Linked DNA regions of Homo sapiens: all the other regions are linked to region 4. The links are contacts of gene promoters, found by promoter capture Hi-C in blood cells and fetal thymus (Javierre and others, 2016). All regions are on one chromosome and are shown on one strand. Each heading gives the region's core, a stretch centred on a gene start or on the middle of the fragment in contact. The rest is flanking DNA. Distances are from core to core; before and after follow the strand shown. Region 1 overlaps CFAP43 (cilia and flagella associated protein 43). Region 2 holds the start of CFAP43 (cilia and flagella associated protein 43). Region 3 overlaps ITPRIP (inositol 1,4,5-trisphosphate receptor interacting protein). Region 4 holds the start of STN1 (STN1 subunit of CST complex). Region 5 overlaps ITPRIP (inositol 1,4,5-trisphosphate receptor interacting protein). Region 6 overlaps LOC124902497 (a long non-coding RNA gene). Region 7 holds the start of CFAP58-DT (CFAP58 divergent transcript).

Region 1 (2,779 bases), core at 261-2,760, 300 kb before region 4:
TGAGTCAGCGAGGCAGAAGACGGGGTCAAGGGCCCAGACACAATAGAGAGGATCTGTGGTGTCCCATAAGAGGTGTGTGACAGAGAGTCTAAGAGTGATTCCAGAAGGTGGTTGTGGTGAACAGTGCCCAGTTCTGCAGAGGTAAAGTTAGGCAATGACTGAGAAGTGCCTTTTGGATTTAGGATGAAGGCAGGTATCTGTGGATATAGCTATGTCAATGGAATGGTGGTGACAGGATGCAGGTATCCTGGGATGAGGAAAGTGTAGCTGAGGAAGCCATGGCGGTGACTTTAGAACAACTTGCTCAAAAAGTTTGACTCTGAGGAGAGGGGAGAGACATAGAAAGGTAAGACTGAGGGAAGGCTTCTTTTGAGGATGGTATGGATGAGCACTTGTGTGTTGGCAGGAAGAAGTCAGGCTAGAGGGAGAGTTGGAAGATGCAGTTATCCTGAGTAAACCAATGTCCCTAAGAAGGCAAGACTGTGGGACCCAGAGCACAGGTGGTGGAATTGGCCTTAGGTAGGAGGAAGGACACACCTTCCATTGTAAGGGGAGAGGAGGCGGAGAGAACCATGCAGACCCAAATGGGTAGTTATACTTGAGAGCAAGAATTCTCAGCTGATGGCCTCTATTTTATTCATGGGAATCAAAGCCATTTACTGAGATTGAGAAGGGAGTAGAGGGGCTAGAGGTTTCGGGAGAGGGGAGAATATTTTAAATGCCCATTTTAGAGAATGAGAGAGAGAGAACTGGCCAGAGAAACATAGCAGGATTGGAGATCCTATTGAGGGTCTGGTGGGGGGTGGCAACCACAAGTTTATGGTGTCACTGCCATGCACAGTCCTGTAGTCTTTGTTCCCATGTCTCTAGCAGCCCAGGCTTTCAGTTGTCTCCATCCAGGGATGACGGTCTTTGCCAGGTACCTGATGCAAAAAGTCAAAGGATCAAGGGAACCAGAGATTCCAGCAAGAGTGTGGTTGATGTGTTGGGCAGGGCATTTGTGATAGGGAATGAAGGATGAGGGCAGGAGGGAGTGAAAGGCAAGCTAAGCTCAATCAATATTAGCTCCAGTTTCCTAATCACAACTCTGAATGGAGTTCTGGCCCCTCATTTGAGGGCATAGCTCACATTTAATTTTTTTCTTTTCCTTCATCTAGCAAGGGACTTTGTTCATGGTAGGAGTTCAGGATATTCTCTTAAATGGGTAAATGAATAAATCCATTTTAAAATACACCACTTTATTTATTTATTTATTTATTTATTTATTTATTTATTTATTTTTGAGATGGAGTCTTGCTCTGTTGCCCAGGCTGGAGTGCAGTGGCACAATCTTGGCTCACTGCAACCTCCGCCTCCCAGGTTCAAGCGATGCTCCTGCCTCAGCCTCCCAAGTAGCTGGGATTACAGGCGTGTGCCACCATACCCAGCTAATTTTTGTATTTTTAGTAGAGACAGGTTTCACCATATTGGCCAGGCTGGTCTTGAACTCCTGACCTCGTGATCCACCCGCTTTGGCCTCCCAAAGTGCTGGGATTACAGGCGTGAGCCACCGCGCCTGGCACCACTTTAATTTTAAAAACTCAATAAATGATCAATTGGCATCGATGAGAACAGTACCCCCAGATCCATATGGAGTACTCACATGTAGTACTTACAGATTCAGGCACTTACACTTGTTTTGTAGCAAATGTGATGATATATTTCATTTTCTAGGTTTGGCTGAGTTAAATTGCAAAATTATTAAAGAAGATAAAATAGCCTTGGTATAGCATATGACAGTATAGTGTTTTTAAAACATAGTTTTTTTGCTTTCTTAGGATACAATACAATGATAAGCATAATTATTTATAAATTTGACATTAAGGTCATTGATTATATAAATTGTATCATAAATTATATCCCAATTTATGTAAATTAAAAAATAGATAAATGTTCTAAATACATGAAATTCAAATGAACTTTTTTTCATCAAATGCTATTTTTCTCTAAGGAACTGGGAATCGAGTATCATTTTGTGTAAGAAATCACAGCCTGGAATGGATGTGAACCAAATGTCTTTTAACCCCATGAACTGGCGCCAGCTGTGCTTATCAAGTCCAAGTACAGTGAGCGTGTGGACCATTGAAAGAAGTAACCAGGAGCATTGTTTCAGAGCAAGGTAGGAGCCTTTGTTACAACAGTAGCAACATGGTGGTCTTTGTTTGCATTCGTGTAATGTGATTGGGTCAATTTGATGAATTAAGTGGCTTTATACATACATATATATGCATACACACACATACACACACATACGTTCAGCTTATCTTGTTATAACATCTTTCTACATGCGTGATTACCTTGGAGTGGTTGTTTGCATTTCAAAAGAATTCTCTATGACTTGTTTCCCAATTAATTTATTTAAAATATTAAGTTCTCTGAGAGCTTTTTCCAACATGATCTAATTTTCTAAAATTTTATTTGTCCTTACTATTTTAAAACATGCCTGTTGTATAAAAAGGAGAGTTAAGACTTTTGCTATTACTCAGATGCCCTACTGGAATTTCAAAAATAAGAAATGGTTAGATATAGAAAGTATGCAGATTGGCCGAGTGCAGTGGCTCACGCCTGTAGTCCCAGCAATCTGGGAGGCCGAGGCAGGCGGATCACGAGGTCAGGAGATCGAGACCATCCTGGCTAACACGGCGAAACCCCGTCTCTACTAAAAATACAAAAAATTAGCCGGGCATGGTGGCGCATGCTTGTAGTCCCAGCTACTCGGGAGGCTGAGACAGGAGAATCA
Region 2 (2,700 bases), core at 192-2,691, 310 kb before region 4:
AGGAAGAAACTTTATTTGTTTTTCTATTTTTTCCAAGTGACTAGCACATGCATGAATGCATGCGGGATGCTCTGTAAATATTTGTGAAAGAAATGGAGAGAAGAAAGCAAGACAGGAAGGAAAGACCTAAAGAAAGGAAGGGAAGGGTAGAGAAGGGAAGACGACTGAAGGGAAAGGAAGAAGGGTAAGGGAGGGAGTCTAAGGGAAGGTATGGGAGAGAAGAAGGAATGACAAGCTGCCGACCATTCAATCAGGTTACTTCCAGAGCTGTCTGCTTCCCTGAGGAAGCAAGAGGGTACATTTCAAAGTGTTATATGGTACTTAAGGGCTTGGAGCTCTAAATTAGCTAGACCTGCGTTTAAGTCCCACTCAGGGCTGGGCAAGGTGGCTCACGCCTGTAATCGCAGCACTCTGGGAGGCCAAGGCGGGCGAATCACTTGAGGTCAAGAATTTGAAACCAGCCTGGTCATCATGGTGAAAACCCGTCTCTACTAAAAATACAAAAAATTAGCTGGGCATGGTAGCACGTGCCTGTAATCTCAGCTACTTGGGAGGCTGAGGCAGGAGAATCGCTTGAACCCAGGAGATGGAGGTTGCAGTGAGCCAAGATCAAGCCACTGCCCTCCAGCCTGGGCAACGGAGTGAGACCCTATCTCAAAAATAAATAAATAAATAATATAAATAAATAAAGTCCCACTCAACTTTGTAGCCATGGACAAATTATGTGCTTCTCTTTTCCTCACGTTACTTATCTGTAAAATGGGGCTGATGGGAGATGTGAAGACGTTGCAACAATGTTTGGCACAGTCAGCACTCTAAATGAAAGTCTGTTTAGAAATTTATTGATTTTTAAAAATAATTATTTATTTAGAGACAGGTCTCGCTCTGTCGCCCAGGCTGGAGTGCTGTGGCGTCATCCCAGCTCACCGCAGCCTTGAACTCCTGGGCTCAAGCGATCCTCCCACTTCAGTCTCCCAAGTAGCTGGGACTACAGGCGTGCACCACCATGCCCGGCTGCTTTTTAAATTTTTTTGTAGAGATGCGGCACGGGCGCGGCAGGTTTCGCTATGTCTTCCAGGCTGGTCTTCAACTCCTAGCCTCAAGCGATCCTCCCGCTCTGACCTTCGAAAGCGCGGAGATTGTAGGCATGAGTCTTACTTGCAATTATTGGCCCGGACCTGGGGAAATTTGTTAAAATGCAGATTCTGATTGAGTAGATCTGGTGTGGGAGCCAAGTTTCTGCATTTATAACAAGCTTCCCAGGTAGCACCAATGTTGCTGGTAAACAGACCACACTTTGAACAGCAAGGGGCCCGCCCCTCGCTTGGCTTGCCGCTCACCCATTGGCCGAGAGCGGCAGACCTTCCACCAATCTGCTCGGCTCAGAAGGGAGCGGGCCAAAGCGCAGAGCCAATGGGCGCGGGGCTTACGGTCTCCGGGATACGGGTGTACACAGCAGCGGCGTCGCGGCCCGCAGCCCCGCGGCGGCGGAAAGGTAACCGACCCGCCCTGGGGTGCTGCGTGCGCTGCCTGCTCCCGCCTGAGGAAAACACTGCCCATGGCGCAAGGCCGGGAGCGCGACGAAGGCCCCCACTCCGCCGGCGGCGCGTCCTTGTCCGTGAGGTGCGGTGTTCACGGCCCCGCGACCGATCTGGGTCTCGCGGAACCTCCTGCCCCAAGTCCCCTCCTCCCTCCTCTCCCTCCGGTTCCTTAGGGCGGCTTTCCCCGCAGCTTCGACCTCTTCCCCTCTGCCCCCAGTGCCTTCCCTCAGCCTCCCTCCCCGTGTGACCTCCCCTGTCCGCTCCCCATCCCCTTGTTCCTTGACCCCGTCCCCAGTTGTCTTTCCCACTCCTTATTCTGCGACCCTGACCCTCCGTCTCTTACCCAGCAACGTCCCCTGCACCCTTCATCTCTTCCTTCTAGCTCAGGATTCCCGCTAGTGATCCGGGTCTTCTGATCACATCCCCCTCCCCCTCCACCTGGCGACAGCCCGGATCCCGTCCTTGCTACCTTTGGTGATTTTCCCCAAAGTTAGGTCCCTGAATCCTTTCCTTCTAACTCCTATCCACTAGCTTTGGATTTATTTGCATTTATAGTAGCCTTTGAAAAGCATCAAGCACTGCGCAGATATAGGTGGCATTTTTTCCCCTACATTCTAGAGTGTTCCTCCCAGCCCCCACCTCCACTCTATACAGCATCCCCTGCTAGTCCTGGACACTCTAATGTCTCGAGGTTTCTCACCAAACCAGTGTCCTTCACTTGCCTTTTCCACCATCTTCAAGCATACCTTTAATATTTAAATAAAAATAGAATCTCCTTCATCTCCTCTCCTTTCTAGCATACACCTAGCACGCACTCCTTACTTGAGAGTATGTTCTTTTTGTGTGCTAGCCTTTCATTCACGTCGACTTCATTCCTTTTATTTTCTACGTTTATCTGTATTTTTAAATCTAAAATATGGCCACATACTCTTCATCTGTGTAAATAAGCAATTTTCCTACTCTGCTAACAACCACAAAGCAGGCTGTCCTATGCAAAGTTGTTTTTTAAAGTTTATTTAAAAAAATCAAACTAATTATAAAAGAATGGCCCAGGATGCCACTGTGTTGAGATCAAGCTCTTTTCTCTGTTATTTTCACTTTTTGTCTTCCAAGTATAGAAGACCCCAGAAGTCCTTCTGAGACTTTCTCAGGTTTGGTC
Region 3 (2,700 bases), core at 130-2,629, 390 kb before region 4:
TACCCGGGGTGGTGGTGTCTGGCTTGCAGTCTGGCCCAGTTCAGAGAAAGTTGCAGAGATCAGGGGCCAAGGATGTCATAGCCCCAGGTTGTCCTCAGGGTCCCAATCCTAGGGCAGGGTGTGCATGGAAGCAAGAACTATGGAAACCTAGCTCCAGTCTGCAGGCTCTGAGCCCCTAGTTCCTCACTCCAGCGGGGCTCCCTCACTGCACAGAACCCACCCCTTCTGTGTGGGCACTGCTGACCACACAGATGACCCAGACCCAAAGAGCCTGGCAGAAGCTCTGTGGTTGGAGCTGGGCTCCGTCTCCAGGTCTGGTTCAGGGGGATCAGGAAGGCTCTTTTCCACCTGTGGCTTCACTGGCCCTTTGAGATTTCCTATCTCACCGTTACTTCAGTTACCCTTGCAGGGGGCCAGGGAGTCAAGAATATACCGTGTTCCTCCAGGGTTTAAGCCGGCCATGCCTTCCCGAGAGCATAACCAACTTGACAGGGGTGCCCAGTTACCCCACAAACTGAAGGAAGGAGATCCTTCCCCCATCCCCAGGAGTGCTCTCAACCAGCCTCAGAAAGCTTGAGAAGATGGACCCTTTGCCCACCAGGGTTAATTCCTGGTGGGGCAGCTCGGCTGTGATCAGGGCAACCAAACCTATAGGAAGCCTTCCAGTGTGAGCTGGAATTAGACTGAACATGTGCTTGGGCCTGCCTCTCCCTAGACGCAGTTGCGGGGCACTCCAGGGAATGAACCAGCTCAAGTGTGTCCCTAACAGCAGCCTGGAGCTACCCCCAATCCCTCACAGCCTGACCCTCCTCATTCCATCAGATGCATTTGTAGAATCGGGGCAAATTTCCTTATTTATTTATGGCCCATGCCTTTCCCCCTCTTCATCCTGATCCCGTTTTGCTTTGAAGAGACCCCAGTAACCAAAAAACAGCCTCCAGAAGCCAAAACCATGCCTGGATCTCCCATAGCTTCTCCTTTGCTTCCAGGAGAAAGTTCACTGAAAAAAAAATATCTTCTGGCTTCTTGTGTGTACAGAGACAACAGAACTCGGTGGGGAAACGGGAATCTTTTCTGCACCAAAGCTGCTTCTAAAGCAGAAAGCAGTGGGGCTCTTGGTGTTTCATGCTGCCTTATTTATATTAAAGGAAGAATTAAATCTTGCAAGGAGTAGAAATGGTCACTGTTTGTTTTTAACTTCAGGAAATCTGTGAGGCTCCCAGGGCAGAGTTGGGGACAGGGGGGTGGATTTCCTATTGACAAAGCAGAAGCTTTCACTCCCTTTTTATTCTTACACTTTCAGGAGACTTTAAAAAATAACAAAACAGAACATTTCTACCCTGTCTTTGAGGCAACTTGTGTGCTGCCCGCAGGGCTCCAGAAAGGGCCTTTGAAAGCTGGCTGTAGGGTGGATTCCAGCCTAAGACCTTATTTCACAGAGCTAATGTCAGCGAGAAATATAGGAGCTGGAACTAACAGGAAGCTTTTGGGTTTTAAAGAAAGAGATTGTATTTTAAATAGAGGATTTTGAGTCCTCTAGGGGACTTTGGCCTTTCCACTAAGGACAACCCTGCCCTCTTTCCCCAGAGTCTCTTTCCCAAGGATGCTTGACTTTCCCCAGCAACTGCTCACTTGCTTTGCAAAATAACAAGGGTGAAATGAATAGAGTTGGCCCCTAGGCCAAGAGGCTGGTTATGTTGGGGAAGGGCCTTATATCCTCAAAAGCTCTAGCCCCTCTGCATGCCTGGCTGAAGCACAGCCCCCGTTGAGAACCTGGGGGTGGAGCTCTGGTTCATCATCAAGGGTGTCATCCGAATCACCCAGACAACCTGGTCCATTGCCCCGACCCCGCCTTGAACCTACATGGTGCTCAGAATCCAGTCTGGAGTGGTCAGGCTAGGCTCGATTTTTAAAGATTTCCCCCAAGTGACTGATGGTACCCCTAGCTGAGGAAGCCCTCTCACTTTCTTTCTTAATGGAAAGTTAAAGAAAACCCAAGTGGACTACTTTCCCTACAGATCTATTGGAAGATAGATAGACCTGGGAAAAGCCAATGAGCCTGCTTGGAATCTGTGGTCTAAGTGGCATCAGCTACACCACAAGCTTCTCATGAGGGCACCCACATTCACGCTAGTGCCGTAAGCCTCAGAGAGAGGGTGGGAAGGCATAAGATGGTGAGCCCTTCTCCCAAGCAGGTCATGAATAGTCCACAAGCATTTGTCAGGAGCCTAACGTGCATGAGACATTGTGGAAGATGGGAAAATGAATAGGACCAAGCCTGTTCCCTAGGAGAGGCAGCAGAAGGTGGCCTTCCAAGTACTGAGCTATTCCAAGTGTGACCCTGCACTACACATACGGGTGTCACCTGGGGGCAGCTTCCTGGGCCGTGTCACAGACTCCAGTGGGATCCTGAGAAGTTAGGTAGAAGAATCTGCACTTCACCAAGTTCCCCACCTGATTCTGGATGTCCAAGAACCACTGGTACCTGGGCTGATTAGGGAAGGCCTCATGGTGGGGCGCTGCCAGATAGAGACTCTGAAAAATGACCAGGACTGTGGCCAGGAAAGACATTCCAGCCAGAAGCATGGAGTGAGGGTGGGAAGCACCTACTGTATGGCAGGCACCGTTCCGCACACACATTTGTTAATGCACACAGTTCCATGTCAGTCCTATGATGTAGGTGCTATTCTTATCCTCCCT
Region 4 (2,790 bases), core at 141-2,640:
GATTACAGGCGCACGCCACCACATTTGGCTATTTTTGTATTTTTAGTAGAGAGGGGGTTGGTTTCCGTATATTGGCCTGCCTGGTCTTGAACTCCTGACCTCGTGATCTGCCCGCCTCGGCCTCACAAAATGTTGGGATTACAGGTGTGAGCCACCGCGCCCAGCCAGTGTCTTCTCTTAATTAAATCTTAAACCCTACATTTCCTAGTGTTCATTGCAGTAGAATCTGGGCAATGTATTTTACCAAGGACTCTTGTTTTTGAGCTTCTTAAATGGCCGGGGAGGTAATTAAATGCCATGGGTCTAATGACACACACACTTTCCATTCCAGCGGCTCCAAGTTCCTTCTCTGATAAATAGTTTAGCAATTATCTCTTTGGCCACCACCTGCCTCCCCCGGGAATGGTCTGCCAGGGTGATCTGTACTCCCCTGCCATTTTCCAGAGTCTCTGTAAATTAGGAAGAATTCCTGACGTCTCGGGTAACGTAGCTCTTTATGGGAGTGGAACGTGGCTATCTTTCCTCACTTTAAAATAGAAATTCTGGAGACTAAGCACCATCAAGGTGGCCATGATTTACCAAAATGCCAGCTTTTCAAAGTTCTTAAGTGTACAACCTTCCAGACTGTAGACCGAACAAGGGTAAAGGAGACAAAATGTATTGTCATGATTTTGCACGGCTAGTCTCTGGCAGAGTCAAGACCTCACATTCACTCGAGGGCTCAAATTTAGATATTGACATCTCCAAGTGAAACTAGAGTCCTAAGTGTGTGAGTCAGGTCACTTACCAACTGTAAATGAACATTTAAAATATGCCACAATGCACTCGTGGCACTGCTTACTTTTTATCTGTTTTACATATCAGGAATCAAAAAGAAAAATAGTCTGATCCTGACCCAACCTCTAGGAGGCCCAGGTTCAGGGTCCCGCCACCAGCAGGAGGAGGGGTGAAAGGTGACTAGAAGAGCGGCGTTAGAACTGCAGGAATTTCAAGGTCGCCTCCTAGGCCTCAGCGGTGGAGGCTAGCACGAAGGCGGGGCTGCAGCGCTGCCTGAACCAAAAGTACGCTGCGCTGAGGCGGGGCACGGAACGGGCTGGACTTCGGCTGGATGGGGCCTAGCGGATGGTTGGGCCGCGGCGGGATGGGGCGGGGCTTCGGGCGGGATGGGGCGGGGCTTCGGGCAGGATGGGGCGTGGCCGCGGCGGGATGGGTGGGGTCTGGGTGGGATGAGGCGGGACTTCGGGAGAGATGGGGCGGAGCCGTGGCGAGGCGCTGCAGCAGAAAGGAAATGCGCTGGCGGGGAGACCGGGGTTGGTCCCTGGCGGGGCAGGGGGCGGGCTCAGGCCGGAACTCCAGAGACGACCTCAGCCAACTGCTCCTGCGCCGGGCGGGGTCGTCGCCGCCAGCGGCTCCGAGCGCCGGAAGGGCCAGGTCTCAGGGCTCCTGGAGCTGCAGGCGGCGGGAGGGGCTACAAGTGGGTCCATTTTTTAGTATCTTTTTTCCTCCTTTTCTTGGCTCATCCCCAAAAGCGGAAAGTTTAGGGCAGAGCGACAGTCAGACCCATCCACTATGCCCCAACACGTGCAGGGCTGCGAGGGCGCCCGTTCCTCCCGGGACCCCAAGCGGTTTCTGCTACGCCTGTACAGACGTATCTTCCCAGAGTGAAAGTTGATGTTTAGCCGTTCCGAAGTTGGTGCTTTGTGGGAAGGAGAACAGCGGGAGAGCCGTAAGGAACGCAGGCGTCCTGACGTGAGGAACGCCTCTTAACACGCCCCGTGGCATGGAGTTTGACAGGGCCCTGGATCCCTGCGTTCACCCCTCCTGGAGTCCTGGACGCCCACCTGGGAGCAGCGTCAGGGCCGTGCCACTTTGACCCACGTTAAACGCATTGCATCCTCATTTCTGTGTCCCATCTAGATGCTTGACTCAGTGATGCAGAACCTTTCAGAGTTAGCTGGAAGCCACAGCCCTGCCTCTTGATGCAGCCTGGATCCAGCCGGTGTGAAGAGGAGACCCCTTCCCTCTTGTGGGGTTTGGATCCTGTGTTTCTAGCCTTTGCAAAACTCTACATCAGGGATATCCTGGACATGAAGGAGTCCCGCCAGGTGCCAGGTATGTGGCTAGCCACCCTGGGATGCCCTGGGCTGCATCTGCCACCCTTTCCCAAAGTCTCAGAAAGCTGGGATTAGAGGCTTTTAGGAGAGCCTTCCCTGCTGCAGGCTTTGAAAGGGACCTAGCCTGGACCTTCGCATGAGTTCATTTATTTGCAAGGTAAAAAAAACAGTCTAAATCTTTTTTTTTTTTTTTTTTTTTTTAGTAGGTGTTTGGGGGAGTAACTTTTGTACTGGGGTTTTTACCTCCATTTAGGGTCTTTCATGCTTAAAAATGCTCATTTGTTTTTCTTTGGCCCTGCTCCTGTTGGAGAGATCGCTGGGCCAGATATTCCTAGGCCTGGCTCCTTTCCTAAATGTGCCACTTACCTGGTCCGGGCATGTGACTCACCTTCTGCAAAGTCTGGGTTTCTTTGTAAAAATGGAGCTTAACCCTGTGTAATGGAATCTTTTGATTCCTGATATGTAAAGGGGGTTTGTTTTCTTTTGAATTAAGCAGAATCAAAATATTATAAACTCCCTGAGAGGAAGAACATCATCTGTCTTGTTCACCTTTGTAATCCCAGGGCTTAGAACAGTGCCTGGCATATAGTGGGCCCTCAAATAGAAATAGCAGTTGAAGCAACAAGGCATTATACATGTAAAGTTTAAATTTTCTTTTTTTTTTTTTGTATTAGAA
Region 5 (2,735 bases), core at 236-2,735, 410 kb before region 4:
TAGTTTTACAGGTGAAAGAACAGACTCAGAGGGACTTGCCCCAAACGGACAACAACAGAGAAGAGATTCGAATTTAGATTTGCTCTCTCCCAGGGCCTTGGACTCTTTCTGCCACCTCAGGCGTCTGTCTGGACACTGTAGCCCAGAACACATACAGATGGCATAAAGAATCCCACAAAGTTTTAAGTGTCAATACTGAGAAAACAGCAAGCAGACCACCAACTCCAGGCCTGAGACTTCTGGTCCCTTCCTGCTGTCTCACTCTGATATTAGCAGACCTAGTGAGCTTTGGAGACTCCTTCTGCCAAGAGATTCTGTGAGTGTGGCCTGAGCTATCTGAGGGTGAAAGGAAGGAAAGGCTTTCCCTTCCAGCACTGTTTGCTTTTCTGTTTAATAGGCACAGTAACAACCAGTTCCTGATAATATTCAGAGCACTTTGCAGTCCTCTGCTGGAAGTCCCTAGGAAAAATACAAAGCCCCGCAATTATCAAATGACTCACTTCCAGGTGCATAACACAGTGGGACACTCACTGCCTGGGAAGAGGGGCTCAGCTTGGAAGCAACCCTGGGCTGCTACTGCTTTCTCTCCCTTCTAGGTCATTTCCCTGAAGCTGATGCAGGAGTCCCCCCAACTCTCGCCCCCTCCTCCTGTATCAAAGCAGCAGGGAAGGTGTTGTCATTATTTTGGCCCTGCCCGCTAGTGCAAAACCATGTGCTCATAACATACTGTTCTCATGGGAGCCGGCTTCAATAGCCTCTTAGCAGCAGCCGGGGGACCCGCCTGAAGTTTACGAACGCGTCCTTTGTTTGCTGAGACTTTGTTCCAAAGTTCCCAAGGAGGCAGGGGTGCAGCATGCCTGGGCTGGAGGGTAGGAGAGCAGGGGCTGCCTGGGTCCTACCCCTGTGTGCTGCCCCAAAATGTCCCTAATGTACCCATGCCGCTTCCTGACATTTCACCCCAACACATGCCTACCTGCCAGTGTCAAGAGAGCCCTCACTCCCTTTTTTGCAGAGAAGGCTTTCCATTCCTTTTATCTCAAATAGCCCAGGCCACACTCACAGAATCTTGGTAGAAGGAGTCTCATAAGTTCATTAGGTTTTACTCCCTGCTTCATGCCCACATTTCATCTAGATTGTCACCTACCCTTCCCTAAACAGTCCGGGTGAGGAAAGTCCATAGGTACATGTCTAATGTTTCACAGATACCAGGTCACTGAGCAGCACAGCTCGTGGCTTCATGGGAAGAGTATAGGCTTGAAAGTCAGATAGGTTTGGATTCAGATCCTGGCTCTATGATGTTGGTGAGTGGCCTCACCTCTGTGCCTCAGTTGCCTTATCTGTAAAATGGAGATAAGTGCCTGCCTCAGAGGTTTGATGTGAGAATGATACATGTAAAGCTTTATTGTGCAATGCTTAAGCCTCAATAAATGGGATGCAGTGGTTGTAATTCATTAAACCCTCCCATGGTGTGTCAGGGCCCTGAGGCTTGTCCAGTTTTTTCCTGAAAGAAGAATTACTTCTCTGCTCCTTCTCTTACTCTGTAATCCTCTGTTTATTTCTACAAGAAGCTTGAGCAAGAAGGGAGGTGTCCACGGCAAGGCAGCTGAGGGTCAGAAAACGTGTCAGGGTTCATTCCTGGGCCATTTTCTAAACGTTGGCAGTGAGTCTGCCTGCAGTTACATGAAGGCCAGTCCAGACCAAACGGGGCTGCAACCGTCTCTGTCTCCAGGGCTACGTCTGGAAGGGATTTTGCTGGAAGGGATTTTCCAAGGCACTTACACTGTTAGCACTTTGTTTTTCTGACTGCAGTGCCCCTCCCAGGAAGAAAGAATGTAGAAGTTACTTTATCCAGAGCTTTCCACTTCACTCCAGGAATTTCAAATTCCTGCTCCTGGGAGTAAAGGCAGTGAGGTTCTTTTCCCAATCCTAACTCCATTCATGTATTCAGCAAGCATTCATTATAGCAACTACCCTCTTCCAAAGCTGGGTACTCAGAACCTAATGGAAGAGCTGTCAGTGTCAATGATGCCAGATTGGAGGGAGTAAGGGAGGGTGCTGCTGACCTTCCTAGGTCTCCAAACTTCCTCCTCTTCCTCTGTGTCAGCCCCTGGGGCCTTTAGAAGAAGACAAGGAGGTGGAGGAGACAACTTAGTCATACTCCCCAGGCTTCTGGAGGAGCTGCAGGGATGTTGTTCACCCACTTCTTCCCAGAGGACTCCTTAACATGCAACCATGACGATTTAACAAATCAAAAAGGAGACATGACCGCAGCACCAGTACCAGTGCCAACAGCAGTATCATTTACCAAGCACTGCCGAGTGACTGTGAGATGGTCCACAAGGCCATAAATTGGACACTATTGCCATAGCAAGTTGTAGAGCCAAGATTCAAACCCAGGCCTTCTGATTCCAGAGTTTGACTCCTTAGCAATGGTTCTCTAAGCCTCTGCAAACTGTTAAGCTCTTCTTAGCTGATGAGCTTTGGGCTGTTTCTTTCTCGGTGACAGTAGGAGTGGAAATGAGCCTGTGTGAACTTGACACTATCAGTGGCTGCTTGCTGCCCACCTCAGTCTGACTGACGCACATATGAGTCATGGGTCCATGCATTCAGCAGGCATTATTTGGACACCTACTGGGTGCCAGCACAGCCTCGGTGGAGCACCCGCATCACACCTTATTGCTCCGTCCCTGTGACTAGAAAATGATGTCATAGTAGGGTTGTTTTGTGCAATCCGT
Region 6 (2,708 bases), core at 3-2,502, 330 kb before region 4:
CATTGAAAGAAGAATGGATAAATTGTGTTGTATTCATATAATGGACATCTACCCAACAATGAAAACAAATAGTCTACAGCTATAGTTATCAACTTAAATCCCTCTCAAAAACATGATATTGAGCCAGAATAGCAAGTCACAATAATATATATGGTATGATTCTACATGTGTTAACTTTAAAAACAGGCAAAGTGAAACAGCACATTAGTTATGGCTCATGCATACATGGTAGAATTGAAAAGCAGGGAACAATAATCACAGAATTCAGGATGGTAGCTACATCCAGGGGAAAGGAAGGGAATGGAAAAGGGTGGGTGCATGATGTAGGGAGGTGCTTCCAGGGTATTGGTTCCCTTCTGTTTCTTCAGTTGGAAGGTGGCTTCTAGAGAATGGCATTGAGATGGGAAAGGATCAGGTGGGGAGAAATGAGGTGGCGACTGCTGTCATTTGAAAAGCTTTCTATTCACTTTGATTTTTTACTCTTAATATACGCTATATTGGGAAAAATTAAGATTTAAGAAACATTTTTTAAAGAACAGGAAAAAAAAAACCTACTGTTAAAAGACAACTGTTAAAAGTAATGAAGTAGATTCATATATACTGATGCAGAAACATGCCAGAGATACACTGTTAAATAAAAATGTTGTAAAACAGCATGCAGGAGGTAATCTCATCTGTTGAATGTACATGTCCTGCCAGTTATCTCCTAAATGTTCTACCTGGAAAGTCTTTAATCCTCACAACAATCCTAAGATTTAAATACTGTTAATATTACCATCTCAGGGATAGGGAAACTGGGGGGCACAGGTTAAGTGATTTTCTCAAAATCAATATATTTTTTATGGTGGAGATGGGTTGTCAACTCTGGTCTTGTGTCTGGAATTTATTCCTTCCGGTGGGTTCTTGGTCTCGCTGACTTCAAGAATGAAGCTGCGGACCCTCGCAGTGAGTGTTACAGTTCTTAAAGATCGTGTGTCCAGAGTTTGTTCCTTCAGATGTTCAGATGTGTCCGGAGTTTCTTCCTTCTGGTGGGTTCATGGTCTCGCTGACTTCAGGAGTGAAGCTGCAGACCTTTGCAGTGAGTCTTATAGCTCTTAAAGGTGCTGCGTCCAGAGTTGTTTGTTCCTCCCGGGGGTTTACGGTCTCACTGACTTCAGGAATGAAGCTGCAGACCCTCACAGTGAGTGTTACAGCTCATAAACCTAGTGCAGACCCAAAGAGTGAGCAGCAGTAAGATTTATTGTGAAGAGCAAAAGAACAAAGCTCCCACAGCCCGGAAGGGGACTCCAGCCTGTTGCCCCTGCTGGCTCCGGTGGCCAGCTTTTATTCCCTTATTTGGCCCCGCCCATGTCGTGCTGTTTGGTCCATTTTACGGAGTGCTGATTGGTCCGTTTTTAACAGAGTGCTGATTGGTGCGTTTACAAACCTTTAGTTAGACACAGAGCGCTGATTGGTGCATTTTTACAGAGTGCTCATTGGTGTGTTTACAAACCTTTAGCTAGACACAGAGTGCTGATTTGCGTGTTTACAACCATTTAGCTAGACAGAAAAGTACTCCAAGTCCCTACCCGATCCAGAAGCCCAGCTGGCTTCACCCATCAGTCTGACACCTAAGTCTGATCGAGAGATCAGGTAGCAGTTAAGACTGCTACCATATCTCATGGATTCTAAGATTCACATTTCTTCATGTTTAAATACCTCTAAAAATGGAAGTGTATCTAAAATTACAGCAGGCTGTGTAGCAGTTTTGACACTGATGTTATTGCTCTTGCTTGGACTTGCAGGGTAGCTGTCAATGGCTTTGGAAGAAAATCCCAGAGATAACAGAACATTCTTGCTGCATTATGGAATTAAATGATCTTCTTGGCACAGAGGACAATGCTATGGGATGAATGAGTTGGGGAAATGAATGCCTATGATGCTGATTTTAAAAATTATTCAAAAGAGCTGGATTCTAAAAGTTGAATGAATACTTTATATAACTTATATTTTCCTTTTTATACTTGCACAAGAGTAAAATAGAATAAAAATCATTTCTAAATAAGCTTAAGAGTTCTTTTATCATAAAAATCTGGGCTTAAAAGAGCTCTTTCAATAAGCGTTAAATAAAAATTTTAGGATTCTGTTGTAATTTAATTGGTTATTTATTTAATTATTCCCTCCTTGTCAGTTGATCTTAGAGCTGACTAAATACAGTTTGTCTCCCTCACAGTCCCCCTAAAGTACTTACTGACATTTTTAAAGAAAAAAATGTATTTTATTTAATGTCCAATAAAAAATACATACACACACACACACCCCTAAAACAGAATTTACACTTACCATTGGGATGCACTGTGAAGTTTTTTTGTTCCGTTCATTTTAAAGACATGTTGGTTACAACTTAGTAAGCAGATCTTACCAACCACTAATACGTTCCAACTCAGAACTGCTCTAGAGCACAAATGTGTGTTATAAATGCTAATTAACAATTTAAGGGAAATTTATAGCCTTCCTTCTGAGAATTAGCTCACAATAGTATTCTATGAACTCAGAAAAAAAATTTAAAAAACTAACATAGTCTTGTTACCATGTATCCTGCCTAGACAGGGCATATTGTTTCAGTGTGCCTGTAAACCACTTTTCTTCCCAGACTCAACAGCTAAGGGGAAATGACTTGCAACTATGTAACAAGACCACATAACTGTATCGTACATTTTCTATGAAAG
Region 7 (2,786 bases), core at 136-2,635, 440 kb before region 4:
ATGAGGGGATGTGAATGGTGCAGAGGAAGCAAGAGAGTAACTAGAATGGGGTGGGGAGGGGGTGGAGCACGATGGTGCTGAAAGATGATGGGGCTTGGGCTGGCTTCATGGGAGTGAAAACTGGTCAGTTGCACAGGGCCCCTTGCTCAGAAAGGCCCCATTCTTGGTTGAATGCTCTGCTGTTCTGTCTTAAAATTATTTGTAATTTTTGAAGAGACTTTGTGTTTTCACTTTGCATCAGGCCTTGCAAATCATGTAGCTGGTCCTGGCTGGAACAGACCGTGGGATGGGTGATGGGGGAAGGGCTCTGATGGGGCCATGAAGGATTTGGGTAGGGCCATAGTGGATGGGGACTGTGAATGGCAAGTAATGACAGGGACCCGAGGCTCTTGAGGTTATACGTGAGGGGGCTAAGGGGCAGGCAGGGAGTCACTGAAGGGTTGCAGAAATAACCCCTCATTGGAGAGGCTGAAAATGGGGTGTACTGTAATATGGGGGAGTGGTGGGGTGATACGAGATGTTAACACAGGAGTCAATGAACACACGGGGCAGAGGTGATGGGCAGAAGAGCCTTAATGAAGCTGTGTGACAGCAGGTGATCACATGTTAGGAAATCAGGGTGTGACAGGTGGACAAGGGCCATTGATTGGGATGACAGCAGGCATCTGTGAAGCTTTCTTCCCGGTTTCCCCTGTGAGATAAGACATCTCCAATATTTCTGTGTGAGCCTCTCTTATGGTATCACTCCATGACTAAAAATCTAGGGCTGGGTGCATGTCACGTGTGGATTTCAGAATTCATTAATTTTCTACCGCACTTAGCATAGCGCCGATGCCACAGTGGGGATAGTGGGGTGTCCACACAAATGAAGGAGAAACAGGAGGTAAAGAGGCCAGAGCCAACGGAGAAAGGCGCGGGAGTGAGTGAGGGTGCAGGGGAATAAGATGTTGATGGGGGGAAATATTGGAATCACCGTTTGTGACAATCGTCAGTAGGAGAGGGACAATGGGGAGGGGTCAAGGGAAAGGCGACAGAGGGGCGCTGACTCCTGACCTCAGCCATCCTGATGCTCTCTGGGGGCGGCCTCAGAGGCTGCTGTGGAGATCGCAGGAGCTGGGCCGGAGTCTGGGAAAGAAGCTAAAGGCGCGACGCGCTGTCTCTATCGCCCGCCCCGAGCGGAAACCCGCGCTCGGCGCGTCGGCCCGTCGCCTGGCAACGGACACGCCCTCTAGGGGCGCTAGCGGGAATTCGAAAGGGGAGGAGCTTCTGCGGCTGGCACCTGGGCAGGGTTCCTCAGAGAAATATGCAAATATATCCCAATGGGGCGGAGCCAAGGAAGTGAGGGGGCGGTGCCCCTGAGAGGCTGGGAGGAGTCCCACGGTGTGGGCAGATGGAGACACCCAGGAGAAAGAAGAGGGCGAATTGGAAGAGGCCACCCAGAAAGGACGGTGTGTGACACTAGGGAGCCAAGCATGGAGAGCCGAGGACTAACGCTTGGAAGGAAATGTGGACCAGAAGGTTCCGGATGAGGGAAGGACTGGCGGCTACACTCTGCCTTCCGAGACAACGAGGAATAATCTCACTTCAGTCAGTTCAACCCTTGTAAAACAGCTACTGTGTGCAAGACACGGAGGGAAAGCTGAAGTAGAGAAACCACAGACGCTGTCTTCAAAGGGTTTAATCTAATATTAGTGATGAGAAAAATAGGGTGCAGAGCTTAAGGCATCCTGGAAAAACGTATGTAGCGCCACATCGCGAAAATCTCTCTTCTGGGACCCCTCTCCCAAAAACGTTTCTTCGCCCTCTTCTCCCCCTTCTGCCTCCACTCTTTCTGGACTTCAGGTACAAATAGTTGAAATAATTATACTCCTTGGTTCATGAAATGTGTAAGACTCCTCTCTGGTTTTATTTTCCCCCTTTATCCCCATCCCTACTCCCAACCCCTATCCTCAACCCCATAGGCATTCATGCTGCTGTGCTTCCATATGTATTTTTGGGAAATGTACAAAATTTTTATCAGTGTATTTTTTAAAAATGTTTAAATAATGCTACTGGACTTTGGAGATTATCTTATTTTCTACTTTTTTCACTCAACATTCTTTTTAAGGATCTGTCCTCGTTGCGATTGGCAAGCATATAGTTCATTGCTTCTGAGTACTGCACAGCGTTTCATAAGGGGCATCTACCACACTTCACTTCCATTCCCCAGGTGTTAGGTAACAAGGCCGCCTCTAATTCTCCAATACATCAAGTAATACAGCCATGATCGTCTTTGTCCGTGGTCCCTTAAGGACCTCTGTGCAAATTCCTCTGAAATATATGCCAAGGAGTAAGATTGTTAAAGTTATAGGGATGCACAGGGACATTTGCTTATGCAGCTGCGTCCTGCACAAACACATCCAGCCATGGGGCAATGGAGGCTGAAAAACTGTCTCTACTCTCTTTCCCGTGCCATGTGCCCTACTGGAGAAAGGTGTGCACTTTTTATTCTCACAAAATCTCTGTACGCCAGCCAAGTCATGAACCTAGAAGGCTGTAACTATCTAGAGGGTGTGATATTTTCAAACTCATCTGGCCAGATGAACAGTTTTCCAAGAGCACAACGATGCCCAGTAGCCTAGTACAAGCCCTGGGTACTTACCAAGCACTTTAAGATTGTGTACCAGAGTTACTGCCCTACGCTGCACTCCAGTGTGGGGTTTCCATCCAACACTTCCATCCATCCCTTCCAGAAGGTGATAGGTCTTTTTTATTAAACACTCATAAAGTGTTTAGTAAATACCAGA

The links. Contacts are between HindIII fragments. The CHiCAGO score rates a contact against its expected background, and 5 or more counts as called.
Region 1: a contact is called between a fragment that was not itself captured here and the fragment with the promoter of STN1 in region 4, in 7 of 17 cell types (activated CD4 T cells, naive CD4 T cells, M2 macrophages and 4 more). The highest score is 7.4, in activated CD4 T cells.
Region 2: the fragment with the promoter of CFAP43 here is called in contact with the fragment with the promoter of STN1 in region 4 in 13 of 17 cell types (fetal thymus, naive CD8 T cells, naive CD4 T cells and 10 more); the score reaches 14.3 in fetal thymus.
Region 3: a fragment that was not itself captured here is called in contact with the fragment with the promoter of STN1 in region 4 in 1 of 17 cell types (total B cells); the score reaches 5.0 in total B cells.
Region 5: a fragment that was not itself captured here is called in contact with the fragment with the promoter of STN1 in region 4 in 3 of 17 cell types (fetal thymus, activated CD4 T cells and naive CD8 T cells); the score reaches 6.1 in fetal thymus.
Region 6: a fragment that was not itself captured here is called in contact with the fragment with the promoter of STN1 in region 4 in 6 of 17 cell types (fetal thymus, erythroblasts, naive CD4 T cells and 3 more); the score reaches 10.8 in fetal thymus.
Region 7: a contact is called between the fragment with the promoter of CFAP58-DT here and the fragment with the promoter of STN1 in region 4, in 1 of 17 cell types (total B cells). The highest score is 5.0, in total B cells.

The regions. Positions count from the first base shown.
Region 1 is chr10:104,213,638-104,216,416 of GRCh38, reverse strand. CFAP43 (cilia and flagella associated protein 43) reads left to right here. Exons shown (of 38, transcript NM_025145.7): 4 at 1,991-2,158. Among named protein-coding and RNA genes, the nearest start is that of MIR609, 3.9 kb to the left of the region's middle. The HindIII fragment of the contact is 3,368 bases long and covers 1-2,779 here.
Region 2 is chr10:104,231,105-104,233,804 of GRCh38, reverse strand. CFAP43 (cilia and flagella associated protein 43) reads left to right here and starts at 1,441. Exons shown (of 38, transcript NM_025145.7): 1 at 1,441-1,623. The coding sequence starts at 1,559. RefSeq lists an enhancer at 1,320-1,614. The HindIII fragment of the contact is 2,497 bases long and covers 1,258-2,700 here.
Region 3 is chr10:104,310,608-104,313,307 of GRCh38, reverse strand. ITPRIP (inositol 1,4,5-trisphosphate receptor interacting protein) reads left to right here. Exons shown (of 2, transcript NM_001272013.2): 2 at 1-2,700. Among named protein-coding and RNA genes, the nearest start is that of ITPRIP-AS1, 11 kb to the left of the region's middle. The HindIII fragment of the contact is 212 bases long and covers 1,274-1,485 here.
Region 4 is chr10:103,916,784-103,919,573 of GRCh38, reverse strand. STN1 (STN1 subunit of CST complex) reads left to right here and starts at 1,390. Exons shown (of 10, transcript NM_024928.5): 1 at 1,390-1,474; 2 at 1,918-2,112. The coding sequence starts at 1,980. RefSeq lists a silencer at 1,079-1,428 and enhancers at 1,169-1,463, 1,094-1,739, 1,599-1,928. The HindIII fragment of the contact is 18,147 bases long and covers 1-2,790 here.
Region 5 is chr10:104,329,394-104,332,128 of GRCh38, reverse strand. All of the region lies in intron 1 of ITPRIP (inositol 1,4,5-trisphosphate receptor interacting protein), which reads left to right. Among named protein-coding and RNA genes, the nearest start is that of ITPRIP-AS1, 7.4 kb to the right of the region's middle. RefSeq lists silencers at 384-678, 2,703-2,735 and enhancers at 639-1,284, 1,285-1,930. The HindIII fragment of the contact is 171 bases long and covers 1,400-1,570 here.
Region 6 is chr10:104,247,669-104,250,376 of GRCh38, reverse strand. It overlaps LOC124902497 (a long non-coding RNA gene), which reads left to right. Exons shown (of 2, transcript XR_007062284.1): 2 at 1,785-2,044. Among named protein-coding and RNA genes, the nearest start is that of GSTO1, 5.9 kb to the left of the region's middle. The HindIII fragment of the contact is 1,590 bases long and covers 458-2,047 here.
Region 7 is chr10:104,352,174-104,354,959 of GRCh38, reverse strand. CFAP58-DT (CFAP58 divergent transcript) reads left to right here and starts at 1,385. Exons shown (of 2, transcript NR_108036.1): 1 at 1,385-1,842. CFAP58 (cilia and flagella associated protein 58) reads right to left here and starts at 1,127. Exons shown (of 18, transcript NM_001008723.2): 1 at 1,054-1,127. The coding sequence starts at 1,062. RefSeq lists enhancers at 1,398-1,457, 2,735-2,786. The HindIII fragment of the contact is 7,343 bases long and covers 676-2,786 here.